Linked DNA regions of Homo sapiens: region 1 is linked to region 2. The links are contacts of gene promoters, found by promoter capture Hi-C in blood cells and fetal thymus (Javierre and others, 2016). All regions are on one chromosome and are shown on one strand. The core of a region is centred on a gene start or on the middle of the fragment in contact, and the rest is flanking DNA. Distances in the headings are between cores, read along the strand shown.

Region 1 (2,700 bases), core at 197-2,696, 110 kb before region 2:
GATCTCGCTTCACCACGACCTCCTACCCGCTAACCCCCACTTCCCACCTGCCACCTCCCAGCTTCCTAGCCTTGCCTGACCAGCTTCTGACGCCCCCAGGTGGAGAATGGTCCAAATCCCACGGTTCCAGAGAGAGGGCTGCTGCTGATCGGGCTACAGGTCCTACATGCGGAGTGGGACCCAATAGCTGGAGCCTTGCAGGACAGTCCTTCCAGCCAACCCAGCCCTCTGCCTCCCGTCAGCATCAGCACACAGGCCCCGGGCACCAGTGACCTGCCAGCCCCAGCCGACCTGACTGTGTACTCGTGTCCTGTGTACATGGGAGGGCCCCTTGGCACCGCTAAGCTGCAGAGCAGGAACATCGTGATGCATCTGCCTTTACCCACCAAGCTCACCCCCAACACCTGTGTCCAAAGGAGGGTCCATGTGTGCAGCCCACCCCTGTCTTGAGCCCGTCTACCAAAATAAAGTTGTAGTGATTCCATGAAAGATTTCTGAGATATGGGGGTAGAGTAGGGTGTGTGCACACCAAGAAGGCAGAATGTGACACACTAGGAGAAAGGTACAGTGTGCATAACTGAGAAAAGAGGAGGTATATTCACACCGAAGGTAGAAGAGGGCATGTGCCTGGCAGCCGGGAAGGGGAAAGTGTGGGTACAGTTGGGGTGGGGTGGGACTTGGTGTTAATCATGTATCCAAGAAGCTAGGCAGACCCAGCAGTGGCTGACACACAGAATCCTAAATCCTTGCCCCGCTCTCTACTGTGGTCTCAGCACTTGTGCTAAATCCACAAGGGATATGTTTGAAAGGAGAACATTAGCACTCAAAATTCTTTCTTAAGGCATTTAGTGGTGTTCTTGGCAGTGCCTCAATCCTGCCCTACCACTCATTCCTCTCCTACGATGGATTCTCTCAGTGAGTCATGCATATGAAAAAAGCCAAGTAAGATACAAGGTCCTATGTTCATTCAACAATTATTCATTGAGCATTCCTTGGAACCAGGTATTCTTCTATGTGCTAATAAGGTTATTCTAGTGTAGGGCAACAGGCAATAAAAGGCCAACATATAAATAATTTTGATGATTTTGAAGTCCTATAAAGAAAACAAAATAGACCGATGCGTCAAGAGGGTATGTGATGAGACGGGAGCAGTTAGTATAATCTGAGTGGTCAAGGAAGCTTTCTGCATATTTGAAAGTAGCTATTTAAAGATCTAGAAGGAATATTCATTCAGGTAGAGCCCTCAGTAGGTACAAAAGTCTTGAGGCAGGAACAACCTTGAAGTGTTCAAGAAACAGCGTATGCAGCCAGAGCATGGCGAGTGAGGGGCAGAGCGACCCAAAATGATGGGAACGTATAGAAAGGGGTGGCTCACGTGGCCGTGGTAATGATCTTGTATTTTTCAAAAGTATAATGAGAATGTATTGTCAAATAGTAGGTGGGAGAGTATATGATCTAATTTGCATTTTTTCAAAGGTCACTCTGCCTGTTCTATGGTGGATGGATGCTAGAAAAGCCAGGGTGACAAGGTAGAAGATCTATTTGGACCCAACTGAAGTAATTCAAGTAAGGGATAATGGAGTTTGGGCAAGGGTTTAAATAGAGATGAAGAACTGACAGATTTAAGAACTATTCTGGAGGTAAAACCAGCAGGACTGATGGAATGGATGTGGAGAATAAAGGAAGAGGAAGAATCTAGGGTGATTTGGATTTTAAGCTTGAGAAACTAGGTGTATCATGTGTCATTAACTGAGATGGGAAATTTGAGGGAGCAAGCAGCTGGAGCTAAGGAATCAAGAGTTCTGCTGCTTTGATATTTTCTGTTATTATTAGTTGCATGACTGCCTGCTAGGCCAGGGCGAGCCTGTCCGACAAAAGTTGAGTTAGAGTATGGCAGAACCAAAGGCCTATATGAGCTTCACTCCTTGCCCCCAAGCATCAAAACTTACGTAGTATTAATAAACTCAGCTCCCTTGCTCTATGGCTAGGTACCAGCTACGTGGTGGGAGGAAATGCAAACAGAAGTGTATACAGGCATACTTGAAGCTATTGTGGGTTTGGTTCCAGACCACCACAATAAGGCGAATATTGCAAGTCACATGAACTTTTTGGTTTCCCACTGCATATGGGTTACATTTACACTATATTGTAGTCTATTAAGCATGAAATAGCATTATGTTAAGTTAAAAAAAAAAACAAGGTATACCAGCCTGGCCAACATGGTGAAACCCTGTCTCTACTAAAAATACAAAAATTAGCGAGGTGTGGTGACGGGCACCTGTAATCCAAGCTACTCAGGAGACTGAGGCAGCAGAAGAATCTCTTGAACCCAGGAGGTGGAGGTTGCAGCGAGCCGAGATTGTGCCACTGTACTCCAGCCTGGGTGACAGAGCAAGACCCTGTCTAAAAAAAAAAAAAAAAAAAAAATTGCATACCTTAGTTTAAAAATACTTTATTGCTAAAAATGCTAATAATCATCTGAGCCTTCAGCAAATAGTAATCTTTTTGCTAGTAATCTTTTTTGCCTTAATATTGATAGCTGCTGATCAGGGTGGTGACTGCTGAAGGTTGTGGCAATTTCTTAAAATAAAACAACAGTGAATACGAGTCCATATCAATGGACTCATATTTTCATGAAGAATTTGTCTGTGGCATGTGATGGTGTTTTACAGCATTTTACCTACAGAACTTATTTCAAAA
Region 2 (2,700 bases), core at 1-2,500:
TTAAGGGCTGCAGACTCTTCAGATCCAGTTAAATCCCTGGTGTTTGAGCTGTGTGGGAGCTGTGGTTGCTTGCTTCCTGGCTTTGCCTGAGGTCCTGCCGCAAACCCTGCAGCAGCTGGTTTAGGAGTGTAAGGTGGCTGTCTCTGCGAGGCAGAGGCAGGGGTGGGAGGCAATTCCCTTTATACTCGATCACTGCCATCTTGGCCCGATCCAAACTCCGATTTGGGATCTGCAGCATTCTTGTGTAGCCCCCAGTTTGATCTTTGTACCGAGGGGCCAGTACTTGAAACAGCTTTGGGATCAAATCCTTCTCCTAGAGGGAGAATTATCCAAGAGACAGCAGAGTCAGGCAAAACTGCAGAGGCATTTAACTTTACACCATTCCCAAAGGTAAGGTCCATCCACACATAGAAAGACCTCCCCCTCCCCTCGCCAATCTGGCATAGTCAGTGTTACACAAAGGGGTCGTTTATAGGCAGTTGTGCAGAGGTATATTCACATCGACTTCAACTAACTTAAGACACAGTTTCTAATTTAGTTAGCAGCACTGGCCCATAAGTGAGTACCCAAGTTTAATTCTGCATAGTTCTCCTTTTTCCAACCCCCACCCCCAGGGAGCAAAGGGTGGGATTTTGAAGGCAGATAGGTCGCACTCACTGTGAGCCAGAAGTCAGCCATGCGCATGGCTCGTTCGTTAGTGTCTCCCAGCTTCCCATAGTCGATGAGCTGTGAGGACATAACATCACGGATCCAACCGAGCAAGAAAACAAGGTGCCAATCTAATTTCTCTAATGCCGGAAGGCAATCCATTCTTTCCACTAGCCAAGCATCTCCAATCTACGCCACCCCTAACTCCGCAGCCCTAACCAGTCTTCCATTAGAGGCGATGGAGGGGCGGGTTCAGCCCAAGGTTCTGGGGGACTCAGACTTGGGGAATGGTTTACCAGGTTGGTCCCGGTCCCTTTCCACTTGCAGCCGGCTCCGCCCCCTCAGACCAGACCCGCAGAGTGGACAAGAGGGCCGCGCTCCTCACCTTCTCCGCGTAGCCCCTCATTTCGTCCACACGCGCCCATGGTGCCTCGATGCGTTCGTGCCGCACCAGCCCTGTGAGCAAGTTCCGCAACAGATGGATGCGGGACTCGGGACCGAGGCCCATACGGCGAAATACGCGGCCATGGGAGATCGCTGCAGCGACCGACAGCCGCATGTTTCCAACTTCTGCCCGCCCCTTGGAGGCCGGAACTGGAAACTGGAAGGTAGAGCCGGTGGCGGCAATTTCAGGGAACGCATGCGCCTTAGCTCGGAGCGTGGTGAACGTGTTTGCGCATGCGCATCAGAGCCTGCCTCGTTGGCAATCTCGGGAAGGGCGGAGAAACGGTGTTGAGCTTTTCCAGAGGCGGCGAGCTGGGCGGGCTTCAGGCATCCAGAGCGCTCTGTGGCGGCCGAAGAACCAGGCGCCCCCTAGTGTGGGATAAGCGGGCCATCGGGTTTTTTTTGGGGCTGCGTCAGCCAGTGGCATTTAGGGCGATGGGGCGCTCCGCCGCGGAGACTCCTGGGAAAGAGAGCGTCTGAAGAGAAAGGCACCCGGAGGGTTCGGGGTCCTGCGGGCTGACGGCCCTACCGGGTCCAGCAGTGGCCAGCTGGCCTGGTTGACACCTGTACGCATTGTTTTTAACACAGTGATTTTCAGTAGTAATGGTGAGATGGATAATAACGATGCCCGGAAAAGAAACGCAGATAGTGAAATTTTTCTTTTATTGAAGTAATCACTCCAGTTAAAAAAATTACAGCACTAAAGGGAAAAGTAGTAGATTGTTTTTAATTACACCAGTGTGTCTTTTTAAGGGGAAAAAACATACCTACACATTTATGTGTTAATGAACAATAATATTATAGTTTGTTTTTGAGCCTTAACATCTGCAAATTGGCAATGACTGTCAAAATTATTCCTTGTTATGGGTTGAATTGTGTCTTCCCCATGATTCTTCCCGTCCCCAAAAAGCTATGTTAAGTCCTAACCTGCAGTAACTCAGAATGTGACCTTATGTGGAAATAGGGTCATTGCAGATGTCATTTGTTAAGATGAAGTCATGCAGGCATAGGTGGGCGCCTAATCCAAAATGCCTAGTGTCTAGCTAGCTAGATAGATAGACACATATATACGTACATACATATATGCAGGCCGGGCACGGTGGCTCACTCCTGTAATTCCAGCACTTTGGGAGGCCGAGGCGGGCGGATCACCTGAGGTCAGGAATTCGAGACCAGCCTGGCCAACATGGCGAAACCCCGTCTCTACTAAAAACACAAAAATTAGCCGGGCGTGGTGGCTCATGCCTGTAATTCTAGCTACTCGGGAGGCTGAGGCAGGAGAATAGCTTGAACCCGGGAGGTGGAGGTTGCAGTGAGCTGAGATCGGGCACTGCACTCTAGACTGGGCGACAGAGTGAGGCTCTATCTCAAAAAAAAAAAAAAAAAAAATGCGCATGAAGAGAGAGAGATGGACACAGGGTGATGCTGACCAGGTAAAGACAGAGACATACAGGCAGAAAGCCATGTGACCTTGAAAGCAGAGATTATGGAGTCAAGCAGTTGCAAATCAATGAATGAACACCAAGGATTGCTGGAGCACACCTGAAGCCAAGGGAAAGGTATAAAACGCATTCTTTTTCAGATCTGTCAGAGAGCATGACCCTGCTG

What was found. Contacts are between HindIII fragments. The CHiCAGO score rates a contact against its expected background, and 5 or more counts as called.
Region 1: a fragment that was not itself captured here is called in contact with the fragment with the promoter of MRPL17 in region 2 in 3 of 17 cell types (non-activated CD4 T cells, total CD4 T cells and total CD8 T cells); the score reaches 5.5 in non-activated CD4 T cells.

What each region holds. Positions count from the first base shown.
Region 1 is chr11:6,571,537-6,574,236 of GRCh38, forward strand. It overlaps DNHD1 (dynein heavy chain domain 1), which reads left to right. Exons shown (of 43, transcript NM_144666.3): 43 at 100-484. The coding sequence ends at 450. Among named protein-coding and RNA genes, the nearest start is that of RRP8, 31 kb to the right of the region's middle. RefSeq lists an enhancer at 1-76. The HindIII fragment of the contact is 538 bases long and covers 1,178-1,715 here.
Region 2 is chr11:6,682,090-6,684,789 of GRCh38, forward strand. It overlaps MRPL17 (mitochondrial ribosomal protein L17), which reads right to left and starts at 1,251. Exons shown (of 3, transcript NM_022061.4): 1 at 1,034-1,251; 2 at 658-726; 3 at 1-313. The coding sequence starts at 1,207. The coding sequence ends at 29. RefSeq lists enhancers at 793-1,555, 972-1,411. The HindIII fragment of the contact is 17,410 bases long and covers 1-2,700 here.